4 separate regions of the Homo sapiens genome follow, and all the other regions are linked to region 4. The links are contacts of gene promoters, found by promoter capture Hi-C in human tissues and cell types (Jung and others, 2019). All regions are on one chromosome and are shown on one strand. Each heading gives the region's core, a stretch centred on a gene start or on the middle of the fragment in contact. The rest is flanking DNA. Distances are from core to core; before and after follow the strand shown.

Region 1 (6,417 bases), core at 2,661-5,160, 110 kb before region 4:
GTTTGGGAAATTTGCAGCCTGACTATGCAATATAAAAGAAAAACCCATTTTCTGGGGAGAAACAGAAGCCAGCTGCAAAAATTTGCATAAGTAGCAAGGAGCCTAATGTTAATCCACAAGACCATGGGGAAAATGTCTCCAGGCCATGTCAGAAAACTTCATGGCAGCCCCTCCCATAACAGGACTGGAGGCCCAGGAGGAAAAAGTGGTTTTGTGGGCCAGGCCCTGGGTCCACGTGCTGTGTGCAGCCTACAGACTTGGTGCCCTGTGTCCCAGCCACTCCAGCCATGGCTGAAAGAGGCCAATGTACAGCTCAGGCTGTGTGTCTTCAGAGGGTGGAAGCCCCAAGCCTTGGCAGCTTCCATGTGGTGTTGAGCCTGCAGGTACACAGAAGTCAGGAAGTGAGGTTTGGGAACCTCTGCCTAGATTTCAGAAGATGTGTGGAAATGCCTGGATGTCCAGGCAAAAGTTTGCTGCAAGAGTGGAGGCCTCATGGAGAACCTCTGCTAGGGCAGTGTGGAAGGGAAATGTGGGGTCGAAGCTCCCACACAGAATCCCTACTGGGACTACCTCTTTGCAGATGTGACTAAGGATATTGAGATGAGGGGATGATCCTGGATCATCATGGTTTTGAAATGTGAGGACATGAGATTTGGAGGGGCTGGGGTGGAATGATGTGGTTTAGCTGTGTCCCCACCCAAATCTCAACTTGAATTGTATCTCCCAGAATTCCCCCATGTTGTGGTAAGGACCCAGGCGGGTAATTGAATCATGGGGGCCAGTCTTTCCCACGCTGTTCTCATGATGGTGAATAAGTCTCACAAGACCTGATGGGTTTATTGGGGTTTCTTCTTTTGCTTCTTTCTCATTTTCTTTTGCCGTCACCATGTAAGAAGTGCCTTTTGCCTCCTATCATGATTCTGCAGCCTCCCCAGCCATGTGGAACTGTGAGTCCAATTAAACCTCTTTTTTTTCTTCCCAGTTTTGGGTATGTCTTTATCAGCAGCATGAAAAGGGACTAATGCATGTCTATTTAAGTCCTTTGCTTACTTTTGAATCAGGTTGTTTTAATTAAGGATTGCTTAAACTCTATCAGGACTATAGACACCAAGGAAGTTTGTGTGTGAAGACACTGATTTTATGCATTTTATGCTTACAAGCTAAGAATAATTTAAAAACTGTGCTCAATCATGCCAGAAGGAAAAGTGATTATTTTTCTACTTTCCTTATAGAAAATAACGGTAAAAAACAACTGAAATATAAAGAGTTATTTTAAAAGTATGCAGCCCAAATACGTAAAGATACAAATGTAGGAGTGTATCAGGCAGTTAAATAATCAAAAATATTATGGAATTTATGAATGTTACCTTAAATAGCTATTTTTAAAGAGGGGAGGAGTTTTGCAGATGTGATTAAAATAAGGATCTTGACATGAGGATATTGTCCTGGATTATCCAGGTGGGACCTAAAGGACCTTCACATTATTTATTATATTTGTCAGCTTTTAAAAACTGCAATTTGATGTGATTTTTCCCATTCTAAATGTATATTCATATTTGTATTTAATTTTAATTTTATATACTTTTTCTTTAAGATGGATGCCAAAATTGTATAAGCTTCAGGCTCTTCTGCCCACTGATCATTCCTGCTTAGTTTTCTTCCTCGATTCTTCCTTTTCTCTCTCATTTCCAAACTTTGGGGTGTCCCAGGATTCGGTTCTCAGACTTGTCACCATCTAGATTCACTCCATAGATACAGGTAGTCAGGGTTTAATCAGGGAAGCAGAATCATGATGAGTATTACTGAATGGGGCTTGTTATTGGAGTAAGACCTCATACAATTGTGTAAGAAGCTAGGGAAGGAAGGGTCTGAAAGGGGGAGTTGAAGAGATGAGAGAAAAGTCACTACCAGCCCTCCTGAAGCACTGGGGTGGGCGGACGAGTTTGTGCTTCCAAAGGCACACCCAGCTGCAAAAGTGGGACTGGGAAGGAGAGACATAGATGTCCGGGGAAGGCTGTTGCCGCCAAGCTGGCTGGTGGGCCTGGGGCTGCTGTTGTCACAGGAGAAGCTGGATGCAGTGTGGGGAAGACCGAGAGGCTGGAGTCCCCCGCCCCTCTCTGTCTGTCTCCCTCAGTATCTAATCAGACACCCCTGGAAGAACAATGGCAGCTGCTTCACTTCTACCTTCCAGTCTTATGAGAAGTTCTTTCTTGGTCAATGCTAATGTATAACCGTACAAGGAAAGAAGTTCTGGACATGTAATTACAGTTTAGCCAACTTAACACAGTTTCAGACTGCCACACTGTGTAGCCTCACTTTGTCTTATGGCTTTACATTCTACCTGTATACCAATGATTCACAACTGTATAGGCCCTGTCTGACCTTCTCTGAAATCCAGACTTAAGTCTAACTCCCTATTAAAGCACGATTTGTATATTTTATAGGGTTTTCACATTTAACATCTCCAAAACTGAGTTCGTCCTCTTATCTGAACCTATTTTTCCAGAATCTGCCTCTGAGAAATAGTGCAAAGACCAAAAGCTTTGGGGTCACCTTATTTCTTTCTCTCCCACTCAAAAAGTAATCTAAAAATCCTACAGGTTATTCCTTTAAAAAAATTCATTTTCTGATCCCTTCTATAATAAGCTGAAAAAATGCTCTCCAAAAGACTTTCATATCCTAATCTCTGGAATCTGTAAATGTTATTTTATATAGCTACTTAAAAGGGAGGGGGGAACGTCTTTGCAGATGTGATTAAGGATATTGAGATGAGGGGATGATCCTGGATTATTCAGGTGGGACCTAAATACAATGACATGTATCCTTACAAAAAGGAGGTGGAGGGAGTCTTGATAGATACAGAGGAGAAGGGGATGATGGAGCAGAGAGAGAGAGGAAGAGAGAGGCAAGAGAGAGAAAAGAGATGAGAAGATGCTGGCCTTGAAGACTGGAGTGATGCAACCACAAGCCAACATCCACCAGAGGCTGCAGGAGCCAAAGAACAGATTCCCCACTAAGCTTCTGAAGGGCATGCACCTTGCTGACACCTAAATATTGGCTCAACAATGCTGATTTGGGACTTCTGCCCTCCAGAACTGTGAGAGAATAAATGTCTGTTGCTTTATATCACCAAGTTTGCAGTACTTTGTTATAAGAAATGAATATACCTTCTTACCATTTTCTCTCCGATAACCCTGTTTCAGAGTACCCTCATCTCTTGTGTGGAGTATCACCTAGCCTCCGGTCTAATGGGTCTCTCTGTGTCTGTCCTTGTTCCACCCCCTATAGTCTAGTTCAACACAGCAGTCAGATGAATATTTGAAAATAGAAGTCAGATCATGTCACTCCTTATTCGAAAACCATCAGTTATCTCCTGTCTCATGTAGAGTAAAACCTCAATTTCTCAAATAGTAATAGTCTACACAGGCCTATGGGATTGGCTTGCTTCTGACTGGCTCACTTTATCTCTGATGCTTCATATTAGTAGCATCAGCTTCCTTGGTGCTTCTCAAGTATGCTACACGTGTTCCTGCCTCAGAACTTTGGCACTTGCTTCTTCATCTGTATAGAGTGCACTCCCTGTCTGATATGGTTTAGATGTTTGTCCCCTCCAAATCTCATGTTGAAATGTGATGCCCAGTGTTGGAGGTGGGGTCTGGTCGGGGGTTATGGGGGAGAATCCCTCATGAGTGGCTTAGCACCATCCCCTTGGTGATGAATGAATTCTTGCTCAGTTAGTTCGTGCAAGATCTGATTGTTTAAAAGAGTCTGGGACCTCCCCCTTCTCTCTCTTGCTCCTGCTCTAGCCACATGTTGTTCTTGGTTCCACTTTGTCTTCCACCATGATTGTAAGCTTCCTGAAGCTCTCACCAGAAGCCTAGCAGATGTTGATACCATGCTTGTATAGCCTGCAAAACCGTGAGCCAATTAAACCTCTTTTCTTTTTAAATTATCTGGTCTCAGATATTCCTTTATAGTAACACAAGGATGCACTAATACAGAAAATTGATACTGAAGCATGGGACATTGATATAAAGATACCTGAAAATGTGGTAGTGGCTTTGGAGCTGGGTATCAGGCAGAGGGTAGAAGAGTTTGGGGGGCTCAAAAGAAGACAGGAAGACAAAGGAAGGTTTGGAACTTCTTAGAGGCTGGTTAGGTGGTTGTGACCAAAATGCTGATAGAGATATGGACAGTGAAGTCCAGACTGATGAAGTCTCAGATGGAAATGAGGAAGTTATTGCGAACTGGAGCAAAGGTCACCCATTTTATGTTTTAGCAAAGAACTTAGCTGCATTGTGTCCATGTCCTAGGGCTCTGGAAGTTTGAACTTAACAGTGATGACTTAGGGTATCTGGTGGAAGAAATTTCTAAATAGTAAAGCATTCAAGTTGTGGCCTGGCTCCTTCCAATAGCCAGGATCAGATGTAGGAGCAAAAGAATGATTTAAAGTTGGAACCTATATTTAAAAGGGAAGCAGAGTGTAAAAATTTGGAAAAGTCACAACCTGGCCATGTGATAGAGGAAAAAAGAGCATTTTCAGGAGAGGAATTCAAGTGGGCTGTGGAGCAACCACTTGCTAGATTAGCATGACTAAAAGGAAGCCAAGTGCTAATATCCAAGACAATGGGAAAAGTCCTGGAAGGCATTTCAGAGATTTCTGAGGCAGCCCCTTCCATCATGGACCCAGAGGCCTAGAAGAAAAGAATGGTTTCAGGGGTCAAGCCCTGGGCTCTGCTTCCCTGTGCAGCCTCAGGACACTGCTCCCTGCATTCCAACTGCTCCAACTCCAGCTGCAGCTGCAGCTCAAAGGAGTCCAGGTAAAGCTTGAGCCACAGCTCTTGAGGGTGCAAGCCACAAGCCTTGGCAGTTTCCACATGGTGTTAAGTGTGAAGGAGGCTTGGAGGATTCCAGCTGGATTTCAGAGGATGGGTGGAAAAGCCTGGGTGCCCAGGCAGAAGCCTTCTGCAGAGGTGGAGCCCCCACCAGAGAAACTCTACTAGGGTGGTGCAAAGGAGAAACGTGGGGTTGGAGACTTCATGCAGAGTGCCTACCAAGGGACTGCCTAGTGGAGTGGTGGGAAGGAGGCCACCACCCTCCAGACCTGAGAATGGTTGATTCATTGGCAGCTTGCATCCTCTGTCTGGAAAAGCCACAAGCACTCAATTCCAACCCATGAGAACAGCCACATGGGCTGCACCCTGCAAAGCCACAGAGACAGAGCTGCCCAAAGCTTTGAGAGCCCACCCCTTTCACAATTGTGCCCAGGATGTGGGATATAGAGTCAAAGATTATTTTAGAATTTTAAGATTAAATGACTGCCCAACTGGGTTTCAGACTTGTTTGAGGCCTATTACCCCTTTCTTTGGCTGATTTCTCCCTTTTGGGATGGGACTGTATCCTCAATGCCTATACTACCATTGCATCTTGAAAGTAAATAATTTGCTTTTGATATCACAGCCTCATAGGTGGAAGGAACCCATCTCTAGATAAGACTTTGGACTTTGGGACTTTTGAGTTAAGGTGAGGACAAGTTAAGACTCTGGGGGACTATTGCAAAGGCACGATTGTATTTTGAAATGTGAGAAGGACATGAAATTGGGAGGGCCAAGGGTGGAATGATATGGTTTGGATGTATGTCCCCTCAAAATCTCTTATTGAAATGTGATTCCCAATGTTGAAGGTGGGTCCTAGTGGGAGGTGATTGGATCATGGGGGCAGATCCCTCATGAACAATGTATTAGTCCATTTTCATGCTGCTGATAAAGGCATACATAAGACTGGGCAATTTACAATAGAAAGAGGTTTAATGAACTTACAGTTCCACATGCTGGAGAGGCCTCACAATCTTGGTGGAAAGCAAGGAGGAGCAAGTCACATTTTACATGGATGGCAGTAGGCAAAGAGAGAGAGCTTGTGCAGTGGTACTCCTCTTTTTAAAACCATCAGATCTTGTGAGATTTATTCACTATCATGAGAACAGCATGGGAAAGACCTGCCCCCATGATTCAGTTACCTCCCAGCAGGTCTTTCCCACAACATGTGGGAATTCAAGATGAGATTTGGGTGGGGACACAGCCAAACCATATCAAATGGCTTAGCACCATCCATTTGGTGATGAGTGAGTTCTCACTGAGTTCACATAATATCTGGTTGTTTAAGTCTGAAACCTCTTCCTTCTCTTTCTTGCCCCTGCTCTCACCATGTGATATGCCTGCTCCTGCTTCACCTTCTGCCATGATTGTAAGCTTCCTGAGGCCTGAACTAGAAGCTGACCAGATGTTGGTGCCATGCTTATATAGCCTGCAAAACCATGAACCAATTAAACCCCTTTTCTTTATAAATTACCCAGTCTCAGGTATTCCTTTATAGTAATGCAGAAATGGCCTAACACATTGTCCCCTCCATGGCCATGTG
Region 2 (5,703 bases), core at 6-2,505, 81 kb after region 4:
TAAATGGATCTGCTTGCAGTTATTTGTGTACCTGTTTGTTGGGGTGTGCATTCTTGTGTATGTGTGTGTGTGTGTGTGTGTGTGTGTGTGTGTGTGTGAGAGAGAGAGAGAGAGAGAGAATCTCAGTCTCCCAGATAGAATTTTATAGGCTTAATGATGTTTTAATGTTGCTTGGCATCCCATTGCTCTGGCCTCTTCTGGCATTTACCAATGACCCTTAACAAACACATCTACCCATGTGACCAAAGTCCACTGACACAAGAGGCCAGGATTCATACTTGCACATTAATGAAAAGTCACAACTGGAAAGCACAGAAAGAGCTGAAAGCAGCCTCCGGTGGCTTCATTTTGTAGATGAGTCCGTTTTGTAATTCTGCAGAAAGGGGGGGATATGAACTTCGCACTGCAGTGTCTTCTTGCTCCATCCTAGGTCTGTCTATATCTCTATCTGGCTATGATCCTTTCTAGGGTTGATGAATACCCTTTACTGAGTCAACTATTGCTTTAAAGAATTTTTTTTGTAGGTTTATGTACTCATTTTAGTTAGCATCTACCTCTCTGGGAAAATGAAAGGAGGGTTGACTTAGGGATGAGTATAGATGTTGAAAGACAACTATCAAACCATGTGGTTTGAATTTTTAAAATTGTAAAACATTGGTGTCCAAACCTCCCACCCCACTTGTATGTAAAGGACAGTGAGTGTTGTATAAATAGTAAACTATAAGAAGCATGAATTTTCATCTTTATTAATGATCTTGAAATAAGGAAGAGAATGCTTAATATGTTAAGTAGAGCCAAGAATGCTACTAAGAAGCATTGTCTTTGGAAAAATTTTGTATAATGACTTGGGGCATAAGTTGTGATGAAAAGGCAACTTGGTTTTTGGTTCCAGTCATACTTAATGATCAGAAAGCTCTAAGATGTTTTCTTTAAAAATAGAATTAAGTTTAATTTTTTGCATGGCTTACAGATTGGGTCCCTTGAAGGTTAAACCATGTGATGGTATAACCTGTGAGATCTTCTAGATTGGCACTGTTCAATAGGGCTTTCTGTGATGATGGAAATGCTCGAAAACCTGTGCCGTCTGGTACGGTAGCCACCAGGCACATTGACTTTTAGGCAGTTAAAATGGGGTTACTACAAGGGAAGAACTGGATTTCAAATTTTATTTAATTTTAATTAGCTTAAATTTAAATAGCCCTATGTGTCTAGTGGCTGCCATATTGAACGATGCAGTTCTGGGTGATAGCGCTTGGGGATCCAGCATCAAGGTATTAATGGAGTAACAGTGAGGCTAAGGTGAGAGTTTGTGGGCTAGTGACATGCAGTTGGCAAAAGGCAAAACATTCCTTTCTGGGCTTAAAAAGTATGTGATCTCAAGTATGACAGTAAAAATTCATTGTTGCCCTTTGGAACTGTTGCTTATAGATTTTAGGCCAAGGAATGATCAGTGAAGCTTAAAGAATGCTTTATTAAGCCCCTTTTCTGGGATCATTAGCTGCATGTTAACCTATTGTCCAAAAATAGTAGTTAGACAGTACCTGTAAAACGTTTGACTTGCAAGCTATGCATGATCTGTACTGTGAAATTGTGTCTAGGGTCTTGTGGCCAAAAAGTAAATGTTACAGGAAAAAAAAAGCCTAATGAAATCCCTGTTCACTTCCAGTATCCTATCCAAACTTCATTGCTGTATTAGTAAGGTGCAAATATAAGAGCAAGCATGTTTTGCAGTGTTCAGACTGGTTTTGTTTGCCCTTGAAGTTGGCCAGCTTGTCGTTGTATTTGGTGTGGGCATATGTGGGCATCATTTTTCAGATGCCAAACTAAAATGTAGGTAGTATTTTTAGAATGAGATTTGACATTGTTTTAGTGTCTTTCTTTTTTAAGCAAAAATTTCAGTTATCCCTGAAAGAGTTGAAGATTTGAAGCTTTGCACAAAAGCACTTTTTTTAACAGTAAAAAATACTGCCCATGAAATTTAAAGACTTGAAGTTTACTAAAGCTACAATAATTACTTTTTAGCTAAATAAAAGGAAGCAGAAAATTCAGTTTGAGATATATTTCCTATAAAGACCAGATTCTTACTGATAATCTGGTATTTATTCCAGTCTAGATTTTGATTTTAAGAGTTCCCATCCCTTTATTTGAAAACTTATGTTGTTTCAAAATTGGTTAGTCTGCTTTTCATTGTTTTCCAAATGGAATATATACAAAATACATTTACTTCATTTTAGCAGAAATGGGTTGATTTTTTTTTTCTAGAACTCATCAATGTGCAAGACTTTCCTTCTTAGCTTGCCTTTAAAAATCATTTAATTTTTTTTTTTTTGCCAAGATACTAATCTTTCTTTAGCCTTAATAGGAAGATAGAAGTTCAAAAGTTATCGGTGCAAAAGGAGTGATACACAAAAGACTTCAATTTCTATCTTTTCTCAGAAAAGTGATGCTGCCCACCAGTCAGCATTTTGTTTCCACATAAGAAGTGTCAGGTAGTCAGTCTGTCATCCCTGACTTAGATAGAGAAGCTGTTCCTTGACATTTCCATCATTCTCAGTAAATTGTCACCTACAAGGTAATTCTTACCAAAACAGAAACTATTGAGAATAATAAGATAGTCGAGATAATTCAGTAGCTGTTTTGAAAGTAGTAGTCTATTTAAAAAGCAACGATGTTCAGTTGCTGGATTTTGTTCAACATGAGACACTTATTTATTTATTTATTTATTTATGAGATGGAGTTTTGCTCTTGGTGCCCAGGCCAGAGTGCAATGGCATGATCTCAGCTCACTGCAACCTCCGCCTCCCAGGTTCAAGCTATTCTCCTGCCTCAGCCTCCTGAGTAGCTGGGATTATAGGCATGCGCCTCCATGCCCAGCTAATTTTGTATTTTTTAAAGTAGAGACGGGGTTTCTCCATGTTGGTCAGGCTGGTCTCCAACTTCTGACTTCAGGCGATCCACCCGCCTCGGCCTCCCAAAGTGCTGGGATTACAGGCATGGGCCACTGCACCCAGCCAACATGAAACACTTCTAAAAGATAAGTGGAAATTCAAGCCATTGATTTTTCTGACACAACTGACTTACTACACACACACACACACACACACCACGATTTAGCTGTAATTGGAGTTAAAATTCAGTAAAAAACTGTTATTAGTCATGTTTTCCAATTTGTGAGTTATACAATATTGGATTAGATGCTAATTTCTTAACTGTTGCTATGGGCTGCATACATTATGTCAAACTAACTACCTTTGGGAGTGTCTATATAAACACTTGAAACTTTTCAAATATATGAAGAGGTAGGTTCTACTGTATACATTTTATTGGAAAGCCATTAATCATTGAAGAACTTAAGCAGGTGGGGCATTTAATTTCTTCCAAATACCTTATTTTTTGGATCTGCTCAAGTGGTTAGGGCGAGTGCACCATTATTCCCGAATCCCTGCAATTTGGTTCCCATTTTTCTGCACAAATTTTCTTGCTCAGTCGAGCCAATGACTTTTTTTTTTTTTTTTTTTTTCAGGATTCACTGCCTGGGGTATCCCACTATATATATCTCACCTATGATGTAGTGGTGCTTGAAATACTCATCTCATTAGCTCGATTTTATTATTCTAATCTAAGGTTTTTTATATTATTCATACTATGATATTTTTAGGGACAATCAGTAATATTTGGGGCAGAGTACTGAGGGACCTCTTGAAGTCTGCAACAGCATGCATTTTCTTTGTTTTTGTGGGAGTGCTTCCCTGTAGCTGTCTTTGTTCTAGAACACTGCTCCAAATTTATTTCCATGGGATGTAGGGCTAGTAGCCCATGTGAAAGTCTTCTGTAATCTCCTTGGGGTGTGAGTTATTGGGTTATTCTAACAGGAGTTTTCCAAAGGGATGGCCCATTTTTAATTCAACATTTGCTTTTTGAAAATCCAGAAGTAGACAGTTGGATATAATAGTGGTGGAAGAGCATGGGCTGTAAGCAGAAGGAAATAGAGATGACAAATGCCTCTTAAAGGGGATCTAGTTGATACCTCTGTTAAATAGTGGGAGAACACAGTAGCTGGTACCTTACACTGTGCTTTAGGAAAATCCTATGAGGATTTCATTTACAAATCCTCATAGGATTTTCTGGGTTGAGGGACAATGCAACTATTAAGTAGAGGGAGAGGGAGAGGGAAAGGGAGACATGAAGCACTGGGTCTATGTGAAGGGACAGGCAGATATACCCAAAGAGGGAGAAAATACTTAATAAAGGAAGAGTATAGCTGCAAAACAAGACATATAGGAGCTGAAGGCCAGATATGGCAGAAACCAGCTGGAGAAAGAAGCACAGGACAACTAGGACAACTTAGTCAAGCACAATCTGTCATTCCAGTACGGACTACCAAGTTCAATTCAGGATGCTTCAGTTGAAGACATGTGGGGTAATGTGCTCAGCTCATGAGGGTCCAAGGAGTCCCCATTTTCCCTATCACCCTATCCTATGCTCGTGGTTTGGATTGTTAGCACACTAGGCAATTTCAGAGTCCGCTCTAGAGTTGGTTGCCACGTCAGTGCAGACAGACTCTAGAATCCTCTTAACCATGGAATGCAAGGCCTGTTCCTGTGGATCTATCCTGACTTGAGTATGTCAGTACTGTTGGGAAAATGAGTTCAAGAATATTTCAGTTTATATATCCTGGTTGCCGTCATATATTTTTTCATTTCACCACTTGTTTGTGTTTGCCTCACTCAACAGTCATGGGTGTAGAAGCTGGTTTCAGCTTGGGGCTGTTACAAACTCCCTACATAAGCCATGTAGCTGCAATCCAGGGTTCCTCCCACCCTACGGCTTTAGCGGTGGGTTCTCTGGCCCTCTTGATAACAAATACTCCAGTCTAATGGCTATATTAATGCTGCTCAGAGGCTATTAACTCAAATCCTTGATGTGTTTCATTTACAATTATGTGGATTATTTATTTTAGGAGCTTTTTTTTTTTTTTTTTTTTTTTTTAAGGGCCAAATAGCCCTACAGATAAATGAGCTGCTGGGCTGTGTAGAAAATATTGTCCAAATGTTGCCAAATATTGACTTCGTAAAGGGGATATCAAGCTGCTGTTTATAAATCTGAATGTCTTAAAAGCATTCTTGCTTGCTCTCTCTGTTATAGATGGTGTCTTAGCCAGTCCTGAGTTTTCCAATGAACCCAATTTTAATATATGGTATTTTTGTATGCCAAACTGGTGTCTTGTCCTTTGTATATGTGGTAATGTTGATTTTATGACTACCGTAAAAACACATTTGCTATGATTAAAGTTCATAAAATGATTTCAAATAGACTCACGTATTGGTTTTTTCCCCCCTCCTAACCCCAGGAAAAGAAAAAAAATTGGCTGAGATTTTCATCATCAGTTATTCTAAGGATTTTAGTAGACTTGGGTGATAAAGCAGTAAGAAGATCCTGAGCCAAGGATTTTAAGTGGAGGTGACTTTCAAGTAGCTCCTCCGAGAGGCCAAAGAACACATCTTTAATGAGTAAGCCCAAGCTTGTCTTTGCAACTTGGGTTTTCTTCTGGTGGCCCTTCCTTTATCCTCCAGTGTTTAGAAATTGTGCTGCATGCCCCAGGTCCCAAGTGAACCATATACAGAACAACTTGTTGCACCGTATACAGAACAACTTCATGCAGCCCCTGTGAAGTAGGGTAGAGTGACTTGGCCTCTTGGCCCT
Region 3 (5,535 bases), core at 1,856-4,355, 98 kb after region 4:
ACGGAGACAGATCTTCACAGCCCTATTTGCCTTTCCATCTAAAGCAGAAATTTTACCCAGGCAGCAGAGAGGAGGTAAGGGCATCCTGTCAAGCACCTCATAAATCCTCATTCACTGTGCCAGAGTCATGTGTCTGTGCAAGTGGATTCACTGTTTATTTAAAAAGCAAACCAGAGGCACTCCTGCATTTCTTCCCATTTGCCAGGCCATTTGTGTCTAGATCAATAACTCTGAGACTCCTACAGTCTGCTAAAACTTTCAACATTTTTAAAAATTTTTCATTCTCATGACTGATAGCATATTGTTGAGCAAACTTTTATTTTCTGGGGATGCATAAGTAGGAAAATTATGGGGAGGGGAGATTTGTTCGTTTTTCTGACACAGGGTCTTGCTCTGTCACCCAGGCTGGAGTGCAGTGGTGCAAACACAGCTCATCAATCCATGGGCTCCAGTAATCCTCCCACCTCAGCCTCCTGAGTAGCTGGGACTACAGGTGTGTGCCACCACACCTGGCTAATTTTTTTTATTTTTTGTAGAGACAAAGTCTCACTGTGAGTGTTGACCAGACTGTTCTCAAACTCCTGACCACAAATGATCCTCCTGCCTTGGCCTTCCAGTGTGCTGGGATTACAGGTGTGAGCTCCACCACACCTGGCCAGGAAATTGTTTTGAGCTGATAATTCCATGGTGTGATGGTGGAAGGAAACCTGGACCACAGTAAGCAGATTTGGATCTAACTCATACTTTTCAGTTTGCTATCTGTATTAACCTTGGGAAAAATGAGTTCATCCCTCTGAACCTCAGTTTCTTCATCTGCAAAATGGGGATGAAAAAACCTATTCTTGCCTGACATAATTACTCTGGCATCAAGAAATATAATGAAGCTTGCAAAAATGCTTCAAAAAGCTGAAAAGTATAACATATATTAATGAAATGCTTCCCTTAACAGTGAGTGCTCATTAAATGCCTGTTAAATGAATGACTATAAAGACTAATAAAAGAAACACTGTATTTGTTCATTTTTCTTTTATTTCTTTATGGCCGCTGCCCTGATTTAGATGTTCATCAGGAATTTCCAATCTCCTCCTAATGGCCCTGTCTTCTGCTCTGTCTCTACCACCGACTCTTTACTAAAGCTGTGCGTTCCTTCAAATGAGACCACAGATCTCGGAGCGTGCCCTTCTCCTCATTAAACCTTTTTCTGGCTCCCTGTCATCAATAAGACGAGGGTCCAGGTAGCTTAGCATAACGACACACAGGTTCCTTATGAAACTCCTCCTACCTACATACCCCTCCAGTCTATTTCTAAGCTCCAGCAGTGTTAAACTATTTTAAATGTTCCCTGGATGCATTTGTCCATATGCTGTTTCTCCCTGCCTGTCAGTCTGGTCTGACTGGGAAACTCTCTTTCAATTTTCAAAATCCAGCACAGACGTCATATGCACCAGGAAGCTTTCTTGACCCTACAAGAGAGACCTCAGCTGTCCCTCCTCTGTGGTTCCCTGGTACGTTAAGGATTTGTATTCTTGTGTTTATCATCTTAGCATTCATTGGCTTATGTGTCTCTGTCCACTACTAGATTGTGATCTGCCTGTAAAGAGGGATAGGATCTTACTTACACATTTTTTCCTTCTGTCCACACCACCTTGTTTAGTCCTTGGCTATCAGAAAAGTTGATGCTCTCAGGGGCCATTGAAAGGCAAGTCAGGATTTCTGCACCTACATTGAATGGTGCAGCTTGTTCTGCTTGGATTCCTTTTTGTTTGTTTGTTTGTTTGTTTGTTTGTTTGAGACAAGGTCTGATTCTGTTGCCAAGGCTGGAGTGCAGTGGTGCAAACATGGCTCATCACAGCCTCGACCCCTGGGCTCAAGTGATCCTCCTGCCTCAGCCTCATGAGTAGATGGGATCATAGGCCCCCACCACCATGCCTAGATAATTTTTAGATTTTTTGTAGAGACAGAGTCTCACTATGTTGCACAGGCTGGTCTCGAACTCAGGGGTTCAAGTGATCCTCCCACCTCGGCCTCCCAAAGTGTTGGGATTACAGGTGTGGGCCACCACACCAGGCTGGATTCTTCCTTCCCAACCTTCCTTCTTCTGTTCTTCCCTGCCTCTTTTCCTTCTTTCTTTCCAAATATTTTTGTCAACTTCCCTACTGAGAGTTGTCCCTGTGAGCCTGCTCTGTAGTGTCCTCTGTTTCCAACTTTCAGTGTGAAGGCTGAAGATGAGGCCACTGTATGTCTTACGGGGAAATGTGCCCTGACTTGGGTAGCTCTTATCCTTACCATTAATAATCCTTTATCAATCATCAGTCTCTGGTTAGCAAATTGTCTGGATTAACTAATAAGGACTAATTTAAATAAATTATACAGAGTACTGAAATATACTTACATATTTATAAAGATCAACAGTTCTCTATCCTATAACCAGTCCCTGAAATGGAATGAAATTACTATAAGTTTTCTGAATAAATGCATGCTACCGTGTACATGTATATGCATGTTATGTATGACATTGGCTATTAGAATTATTATTATCCTGGTTTTTCAGATGAGGGTGCTAAGTCACAAAAAGGTTAAATAATTTTCCTAGGGCCTTATAGGTAGCTAATGGTGGCAAGGTTAAAATCCAAGCTGTCTGAAAACCATAGATTTGGATAAATCAATATCCTTTCCTTTTCAGAGAATTAAAGCTTTGAACGATGTATAATTAGGCCATTTTAATGCCAAAAGCATTATTCCTTTTGTATGTATTTACAACTAAAATAGAGAAAATGGTGAAGGAAATATGGGAGAAAAGAACAATATTTTTTAGAAGTGGGATACATGCTGCAACATGGATGACCTTGAAAACATGCTGAGTGAAATAGGTGAGGCACAGAAGGACAAATATTGAATGATTACCCTTCTATGATGTTTCTAGTGTAGGCAAATTCGTAGAGATAGAAAGTAGAATAGAGGTTACCAGGGACTAGGGGAGGGGAAATAGGAAGTTATTGTGTAGTGGGTACCAAGTTTTTGTTTGGAATGATGAAAAAGTTCTGGAAATTGATGGTAGTGATGGTTGCACAACACTGTGAATGCACTTAATGCCGCTGACTTGGCACTAACTCTCAAAAATGGAGAAATATTATTTCTATTTTTCCACAATAAAAAAAATGAAAATAGGCCGAGCGCAGTGGCTCACGCCTGTAATCCCAGCACTTTCGGAGGTTGACACGGGTGGATCACCTGAGGTCAGGAGTTTGAGACCAGCCTGGCCAACATGGTAAAACCCCATTTCTACTAAAAATACAAAAATTAGCCAGGTGTGGTGGCATATGCCTGTAATCCCAGCTATTCCAGAGGCTGAGGTGGGAGAATAGCTGGAACCTGGGAGGCAGAGGTTGCAGTGAGCTGAGATTGTGCCACTGCACTCCAGGCTGGGCGACAGAGCGAGACTCCATCTCAAAAAAAAAAAAAAAAAAAAAATTAAGATAAAAAGCAAATGAGGAGGAATGCTAGCAGTTTTGTAAGACCAAAGCTTCCTCCTGAGGCAGCCAAAGAGGTGGGAAGCGTAATAGAGACTCTGACACTTGCTCTCAGCAAACAGAGTTTAATTAGTCAGGACAAGGCCTTTTTCACCAGCTCTTACCAGTGCACCAGAGGCTCAGAACAATTACTGTTGACAGCAAAATCATGTGGCAGGGAGAAAAACATCTTAAGTTTCCTCTTTAAAATTAGGGAATTATCCAGAGTAAATGCACTGTGTCTATATCAGGGTAACCGGGGTTAAATATATTCTGCATGCACTAAAACTGAAGTCATTTGAAATGCAAAGTGTTGTGTGAGAGGAAAAGCTGCTCATTTAGCTGACCTGGGTCAGAGCTGCAAAGCGGTAGTCCCATCCAGCCAGAAACTGTGTTTTATTTGACCTACAAACATGTTTCTCTTAGTTGCCAATATTTTAAAATCTGGCTATTTCTTACAAATATCTGGATTTCTAACTTTTCTTGAAAAATCAGAAGATGTGTGTTATGAGTATCATAGAGTGGGTAGTGGTTCTTCCCCATATTCCCTGGACGTGCAGAATTAATATTTCTATCCTATACTTAGTCTCATTCATTTATGTTCTCTGGTTGGCCTCTGTGGCCATTTGAGTTCCCCATATCAGATTTAAGTCTAACCTTTCCGTTTTTGTTTTAATACATTTTTTGTAGAGATGGAGTTCTCACTTTGCTGCTCAGGCTGGTCTCGAACTCCTGGCCTCAAGCAATCCTCCTGCCTTGGCCTCCCAAAGTGTTAGGATTACAGGCATGAGCCCCTGCGCCTGGCCTTACCTTTCCTTTATCTCACCTCCTTAGTAAAACTTTTCCGTCTTTCAACTTCCTTCCTTAGTATCTCTTCATTCCTGTAGTAGTTATTATGTCTATACCACTTGGTTCTTATCACATATTATTTTTTATAATGTAATGTAGGCATGCCAGAAAGTTCCATATTTTCTAAAAAAGAAAATTTAATTATTTTGCCTCACTCTCTATTTCTGTTTCTGAAGACATAGTCAATGAATATATCTGTCTCATGACCCCAGCTAGATTGTAAGACCCTCAAGTGCATAGACCATACCTTAAGATGTTGTGGGTTTTTTTGTTTTTTTTTGTTTTGTTTTGTTTTGCACAAGCATAGATTGAGCTGTTGTCCATAATAAATCAATAGGTTTGGGATTGCCTTTAAGAACAAAGATAACTCATGAGTGCAGACTGGCTAGATTATCAATGGCTAGAGCATAGATGAAGAAATGGACTTCATCTCTCGGGAAGTCAAGGCATTTTCCATATCCGATGGCATTAAATTATCATGTCTCATCCTTTTGCCAATCCTTGTCCTTGTTTAAAGGGCAGAAAGTGTGATGGACTCATGCAAATTCATCCTTCAGTCCTGGGGGAGGAATTCATGGCTTCTGGATTGGCTTGATTATTTTTGCACAAGGAGGCTTTTCCTAAGATGATAAAGGCATTTTTACCAAAAGAAGATAGCAGCTGTGTAAGTTCATGCTATAGCATTTTCAGTGAATCAATGTTTAATTATGATTATAACTGTAACTGATAATGACTTATGTGTTAAGAAGAATGGTGGCTCAGAGATGAAGAAGGGAGGCTATGACAAACAGAAATTTTAAGACAGGGTAAATGAAGTTCATTGTTATTGAGAAGTCACAGTAATTTATATTAATAGGAAAAACATTCTTGAAATTTAAAGAAAAAATGTGAAACTAAATAAAATGTTGCAAAAATTGAGTTTCAATGTCTTGACCCTGTGTAGTTTAATACTTTCTAGTAAAGTCAAATACAGGAAGTCCTTGCTTTGCATGGCCCCAATTAGTGTGATTTTGAATAAATTTTTTTTTCACTTAAAATGTGTTTTAGTCCTCATGTGTGGAAGGCACTGTGGGGAGTGAGACAAGATGGGATTATGGTATAAATTTTGCCCCCAAAGGAAGGAATTTTAGAATGAAGAAAGGAGATGGGGAATATACAAAGGGACTATAATACAAGT
Region 4 (6,367 bases), core at 2,654-5,153:
CTGTGTGACAGCTTTACAAGACTGGACAGAAGGCAGAACACCCATGATGCTCTGTGAATTAAAATCCCAGCCAGTGGAAGTGAAAGAGTCAGGATGGGGGTGGTTATTCCACATCGAGTTGAATGCTTGAATCCCCCAAACAATAGTTCCAAAAGCAGCTGAATAAAAGAGTTGAAAAATTTTGGAACAATTACTGATCCCTGAAATTAGCTTCTGAAGAGTAGTCTTTAAAGTCATTCTTGTATAATCATAACATTTCTAGGCTGAACTTTCCTAGTAAAATTTGGGATGTTATAACTCATCTTCCTTATTCCAACTCCTTGCCAACATCAGAGTTTTCAAGACCCTCATTAACTTCTCCTTAAAGTGAATTTCTGGAGCTGGGCTTGGTGGCTTACGCCTGCAATTCCAGCACTTTGGGAGGCTGAGGCAGGAAGATCACTTGAGGCCAGGATCAAGACCAAACCAGAGCAACAAAGAGAGACCCCTATCTCTACAAAAATAAAAAAATACAAAAATTAACTGGGCATGGTGGCACTCCTGAAGTCTCCCAGCTACTTGGGAGGCTGAGGCAGGGGGATGCTTGAGCCTGGGAGATTGAGGTTGTGGTGAGCCAGGATTTTGGCCACTACACTCCAGCCTGGGCAACACAGTGAGACCCTGTCTCAAAAAAAAAAAAAAAAAAAAAAAAATTCTCCTTCCTGCCCTGAAGTTGGGGCTTAAAATAAAGACTCTTGAAGTCTTCTACTTCAGGATTACCTTAGGCTTCTAAAACATGGATACAGCTTTTACTCTTTTCAGGTGTACGAAGGAGGTTTTAGCTTGGGTGAACAAAGGGATAAGGATCAGTCAGATGACCATAGGAGGCAACGTTTTAATTGGGATCCCAGGGACAACTGATACCCATGAAGCTTTATCTGTTTCTAGATGACCAGTTTTATGTATGTGCTTAAGGACAGCACTTTTGGAAACCCCATCAACAGGTCGTAATTGTGGGACATGACAAGAGTGCTCTCAGTACATTGTGAGTTTTATAGTAGGTTACCTAGAGTCCCCACTGGCTCACAGGGCTTCCTCTAAAAAAAAAAAAAAAAAAAAAAAAAAAAAAAAAAAAAGGCGCGGTGGCTCATGCCTGCAATCCCAGCACTTTGGGAGGCCGAGGCGGGCGGATCACCTGAGGTCAGGAGTTCGAGACCAGCCTGGCCAACATGGCGAAACCCCATCTCTACCAAAAATACAAAAATTAGCAGGACGTGGTGGTGCGGGCCTGTAATCCCAGCTACTTGGAAGGCTGAGGCAGGAGAATCGCTTGAACCCGGAAGTTGGAGGTTTCAGTGAGCTGAGATCGCGCCACTGCACTCCAGCCTGGGTGACAGAGCGAGAGTCCATCTTCAAAAAAAAAAAAACAGAAAAAGTAAAAAAAGAAATCTTGGCAGAAGCATTTCAATAAGCTACTTGGGGGAGTGAAAATGGGGACTCTTTCCTTGCGGATACTACGGACCTTAAGACAAAGACGGCTCCACTCCAGCAGTGGGGAAAGGCAGCAAGTGCCGCTGGAATCCGTGGGGATCACACTCAACTGAGCCCTGCTGCTGGGGACCGGGTAACGTCCGCAGGCTGAACTTCATCTCAAGAAGAGAGTTTTAGGTTTTCATGCTGCAGAGAAATCCTTTAAAAAGGCACCAAAGGGCATGGAACTATCTTCTACCAAGGACCTTTCTCCTCCATTCTCCTATTTCGCAGTTAACTCAAGAGGCGGGAGATTTTCTCCGGGGAACAAGACATTCTAAGCACCTCCCTAGGTCGAAGTTAGGTTTTAAGGTGTGGAATAGGGTGGGCCCCGAGGTTCCGTGGGGTTCGCGCTTCCATATAACCCCTAGGACTTGCATCTCTTTACTCCCCTGCTTCTTGTCCCCCATTCGAGGGATTCAAGTAGTGGGGTGTCCATTCGGGCCTCTTTGGAAAGCGGGGCCCCACCCTGGCTGGACTACGTGAACTTTTAGGGGCAGCCAAAAAGTATCCGGTGACGAGGATGCAGGGCAGCTTCTGGAAACCTGATGATCTCAGCTCCTCCCTCTCGCTGTCCGGGTCCTAGGCACAGACTGGGCACCCCCCAACCCACCCACCGCGGCCCCGGCCCCCTTCCCGGCCCTGCCCCTCCTCCCGGCTGCCCAGGCCTCCTTTCACACCTGCCGCCAGCTCAGGTCCCGCTTTTGCACGGTAGAGAGACGGCGTCGAGGTCCTGGCCGAGGGTAGGCACTGGGGGCAAAGCCGAGGGAGCGCGCGAGAGAGGGTAGGCAGCCCCTCACCCCGGGGGAGGTGGGCGATTCGGGACTGACGGAGAGAAGTCCCGGGCCCGCCGGGCTGTGGGCGGGGAGGAGGGGGTGGAGCCGCCGGGGAGGGCGGTGCCGCGGGGAGCGGAGCCCAGCCTCTCCCCCCACCCCCTTTGGTGCCGGAGTCTCAGTGACACAAAAAGCTCTCGCTCGGTGCCGAGCGCCTGGCGGCGGTGTCCGACCGCGAACGCGGAGGGCGGCCGGGCAGGTGGGGGTGCCGCCCGAAGGGCCGGGCCGGGTGCTGGGGCTGCAGGCGCCGCCGCCGCGCTGTCAGCGTCCGCCCCGTGGCTCTCGGCCGGAGGAGCGGCGGCCGCCGGCCCGGGGCGCGAGTCTGGCTGAAAGGAGCGGGCGCGCCGGGACCACCCGGCGATGCTGTCGCCGCCGCCGCCGCCTCTGTAGCGAGCACCCGAGCCCGCCGCGGAGAAAGGTCAGTGAGTTTCGGTTTGTTTCTCTGCTCTGCCGGCTCCGGATCGGGGGCGGACAGAGGGGTGCGCAGGGATGTCTGCGCCCCTACGGCGGCCGCGCCGAAGCCGTGGAAGCGGGAAAGGGCAGCTGCCGCCTGCTGTAACTGGGGAGATCTTCTGGACCGCGGAGGGGGTGGCGGGGCCGCAGGGTCCCGGGGAGGGGAGCGCGGGGTCTGGCGGGGCACGGGGGAGGTGGTCCCGGGAGTTGCGTGTCTCCTGAGAGCTGGCGGAGTTGGGCGGGCGGCCGCGGCGGGGAGCGGCGCTGTCGGCTGCTCGGCCGAGTCCTCGGATGCCCCCTGGAGCTCCGGTCCGAGGGAGCTTTCCTCGTGCCCGCGCCGCGCGCGCCCCTGGGTGTGCACGTGCGCGCGCGCCCGCCCCAGTTGCGCCCCCGGCCCGCACACACCCCGGCTCATCTTCTCCCGGTCCCCTTGTCTCGCGCCTTCTCCAGCCCTAGAAGTTGCCCCAGGGCCCCTCCCGGGATTAGAGAGCGCTGTGAAGGGCCAGATGTTGGGGGTCTTTTGTGCAGACACACGCGCCTGGGGCGCTTGCTCCTGGAAGGACAGCGGCAGGACAAAGCCAGCTGGACTCGTGGGGCGCTGCTCGGGAAGCGGCGGTCCCCAATCCCGCCTGGGGTCGGGGCATGGCTTGGGGAGCGCTGCCTGGGTCTGGAGAGAGTAGAGAAATCGCCAAAGCAGAGTGACGGTGACTTGATGAGGTGACGGTGACTTGATGAGGTGGCGGTGACTTGATGAGGTGGCGGACAGGGGCAAACGAAAGAAAGATGCTCGGGATTGCCGCGCTGTGTGCCTGTCTGCGCGGCTGACTAGGCGCCCCGCATTCCCATATGACCGGGTTACCTGGTAGATTTTGCCAGTGTGTCTTTGCCCCAAGATGTTATTCCCCACCTGCTCCGATTTCTTTCTTTCCTAGGGCTTACTGTTGCTAGTAGGCGCTCTGCCACCAGAGGGGAACTCGTGGGCGGGGGAGACTGCGGAGGAGGGGGGAGGTGGTTATTTATCCTGTAGAGACAATTAGGAGCCGTGACGCCCCCTTCTCGGCCGCCAGCCCTCCACACCTCATCTGCCTTGCTCCACCTCCCTAGTGCACCCGCTCCAGCCCCGTCTGCCCAGGAGGGCGCTTGGATTTCCTTCTCCGCGGCGCGTATCTAACCCTTCCTGCATGTATTTCACTGCAGGCTGAAGAAAGCTCAGTCTCAATTGTGTTTCCTGCCTGTCAGCCTCTTGCCTCCTAAACGTGTACCATTTCCACTTGATGTCATCACGCAGAAGGGGTGAAAGAGACTCGGTGACAGATACAGGTAACCCCCCACGATCTGGGTAGCGCCTGGGTGTCTCTGGGTCATTTGGGCCGACAGTGCTGGCACAGGGCTGTTTGGGTGGTTTCTGCATCAACATCGTTCCTATCTGTGAGAAGGTGTGGGGGCTGCTAAAACTCCTGGTTCAAAGAAATAAATTGCAAATGACTTTATACCTTCCCTTTGAAGAAGCCATTGGAGGTAGGTGCAGGGTGAATTTGGGATTGTAGAAATCCCACCTGGTTTCCTTTCATGGGAATTTTGATATAATTCATACACAGGCAGTTGTATCTGAATGTTAGGTTTCCATAGATGCCTGCTTTCTTATCTGTAGTAATAGATTTAGGCTTCAGTCTAGAGGTGGGGTATCCTTTGTTGAAAAGGTATCATTGGAAGGCTGATTGTACTTTTGCCCAGTGCTCTAATTGAGCACCGGTCAAATGCAGTGACCTTCGTATGAAATACTGTCTTTCTTCTGTTCCTTCATTGTAATAGTGTTTGCAATATTAAGAGAGACATGCTAGCAGTGAGTACTGGGAGGTGGAAGGGAGGGCTGTTGGGGGCAGCAGAAAGAGAACAGAGAAAACAGCTTGAGTGAAGTTTCCATTTAGATAGCCATGAACCAGTAGACTCTCATTCTGGATTTTATCTTTAGGTTATTGGGGCTTTTCCAAAAACTCTGGCCTGTTCTTTTCTTTCCAAGGATAGTTCTGTTTTGATGTCAGCCTAGCCAGATCTGGGGTTATCTTGATAAGAGTGCAATGAAAAAACGTAACCTTCAGACTTAGCAGGACACTCCGGCATTAGCATTTTCTGCTAGAGGGCAGAGTCCTGCGCATCCTACACTAGTAGCAGGGAATAAGAATGGTTATGGAAATGGGCTTTCGATTTTTCTTGTAGGAAGACAGATTGCTGAGGGCCAAAGGCTCCTGGTCTACTCTCTTTTACATTGCAGTAACACCTTGGTATCTGTGACAGATTCTCTCTTCACCATTTTCCTCCAAATCCCTTGAAAAATGAAGTTAAAAACTTGAAAGATTTATTATTCACCTCCAATGTAGTTTTGTTTTGGAAGGTGACTTTAAAAACATAGGTGACACTAGCATTTATCCTTCTACTACAAGCATTCAGGAGTCACTAGTAAAAGCAGTTGAGTTATCTAGTCCCAGGTGAAACAAAGGCCAGTGCTTTGCAAAGATCAGATGAGTAATGTGGTGCTAAGATAGAGGTATTTTTGACAAGTAATTTTTATGTCAGCAATAGTACAGGGTGTGTACTGTGTTGCTGCAAGAAGAAAAAACATGTGATGGGATAATAGGGAATGTAATAATGCAATAGAAACAAGGGTGTGGTTTTTTTTTTAATAGAAAGAATAAACACTTCGCACACAAAATTCCACATGGCAAAACAGTAGCCTGCCCATGTAAATGCACGTCCAAGAACAAAGATAGCCACAGTGCAGTGTTAGGTTTCATTGTGGTTTTAAATTGTGTACAGTAATAAATCATAATAAAGTGTCCATTGATGCTTAATTTTTTTTATATAAGAAGGAGGCTCCCCACCCTCAGATGTGTTTAGCTTTAGGCTGGAGGATCCCTAGAGGCTATTAGGCTGATCTCTGCCTCCAATGCCTGCTTCCTTTCTACAATGCTCATTTATTCATTTAGCAGATGTTTATTGGCACCTGATAGATAATGGACTCTGTGATAGATAATGGACTCAAGGGGTTGGGGTTGGGTGTAGGGGGAGACACAAAATTGAACTCCCTATAGGAAGACCTGATTCTAATTAACTTCAATGGAAGCTCAAGAGAGGTAGGATTGGACTTCTGGGGAGAGAAAATATGGTCATCCAGCCTCAACTTTAATGCCTCTTTCATTGAGGAGCTCACTGCTTCATAAATGGCTGTTGCTGTTGTCAGAAGGTGGCATTTTCATTGTAGTCTTTTTAGCTGAATTCCATACAGTTCGGTCCTTACATTGTTGAGGGTCATTCTGTTTTCATTTCTAATTCCCTCAGAGTTGTTTGAACCCACCTATGCTGTCAGCACCCTCTGCTTTTCAAGGTAGTGTTCAGTTCCTGATGAAGTTGAATTTTGAAACAAATGTTGCTTTTCCATATTATCTGATTTAGAAAACAGATTGATGGGATGCTTTTGCAGATTTTTCTCTTTTTTAAACAGTGACGTACCAGCAAGATAGGTGAGGTTATGCTGCAGTAACAAATACCTCCAAGTCTCCATAGCTAAATACAGT

The links. The method cuts DNA at HindIII sites, captures the fragments that hold promoters and counts their contacts. A contact is called where the count stands out against the background at its distance.
Region 1: a contact is called between a fragment that was not itself captured here and the fragment with the promoter of RNF152 in region 4, in 7 of the 25 tissues and cell types used here (H1 embryonic stem cells, IMR-90 fibroblasts, aorta and 4 more).
Region 2: a fragment that was not itself captured here is called in contact with the fragment with the promoter of RNF152 in region 4 in 3 of the 25 tissues and cell types used here (IMR-90 fibroblasts, lymphoblastoid cells and stomach).
Region 3: a fragment that was not itself captured here is called in contact with the fragment with the promoter of RNF152 in region 4 in 8 of the 25 tissues and cell types used here (H1 embryonic stem cells, adrenal gland, aorta and 5 more).

Annotation. Positions count from the first base shown.
Region 1 is chr18:61,999,821-62,006,237 of GRCh38, reverse strand. No RefSeq gene overlaps it. Among named protein-coding and RNA genes, the nearest start is that of RNF152, 110 kb to the right of the region's middle. RefSeq lists enhancers at 3,835-4,673, 4,674-5,513. The HindIII fragment of the contact is 3,662 bases long and covers 2,080-5,741 here.
Region 2 is chr18:61,807,674-61,813,376 of GRCh38, reverse strand. RNF152 (ring finger protein 152) reads left to right here. Exons shown (of 2, transcript NM_173557.3): 2 at 1-5,310. Among named protein-coding and RNA genes, the nearest start is that of LINC01544, 62 kb to the right of the region's middle. The HindIII fragment of the contact is 4,940 bases long and covers 1-3,725 here.
Region 3 is chr18:61,792,447-61,797,981 of GRCh38, reverse strand. No RefSeq gene overlaps it. Among named protein-coding and RNA genes, the nearest start is that of LINC01544, 47 kb to the right of the region's middle. The HindIII fragment of the contact is 3,874 bases long and covers 1,169-5,042 here.
Region 4 is chr18:61,890,543-61,896,909 of GRCh38, reverse strand. It overlaps RNF152 (ring finger protein 152), which reads left to right and starts at 3,903. Exons shown (of 2, transcript NM_173557.3): 1 at 3,903-4,115. LOC105372159 (a long non-coding RNA gene) reads right to left here and starts at 2,357. Exons shown (of 3, transcript XR_935562.3): 1 at 2,190-2,357. RefSeq lists silencers at 2,348-2,497, 2,568-2,717. The HindIII fragment of the contact is 14,100 bases long and covers 1-6,367 here.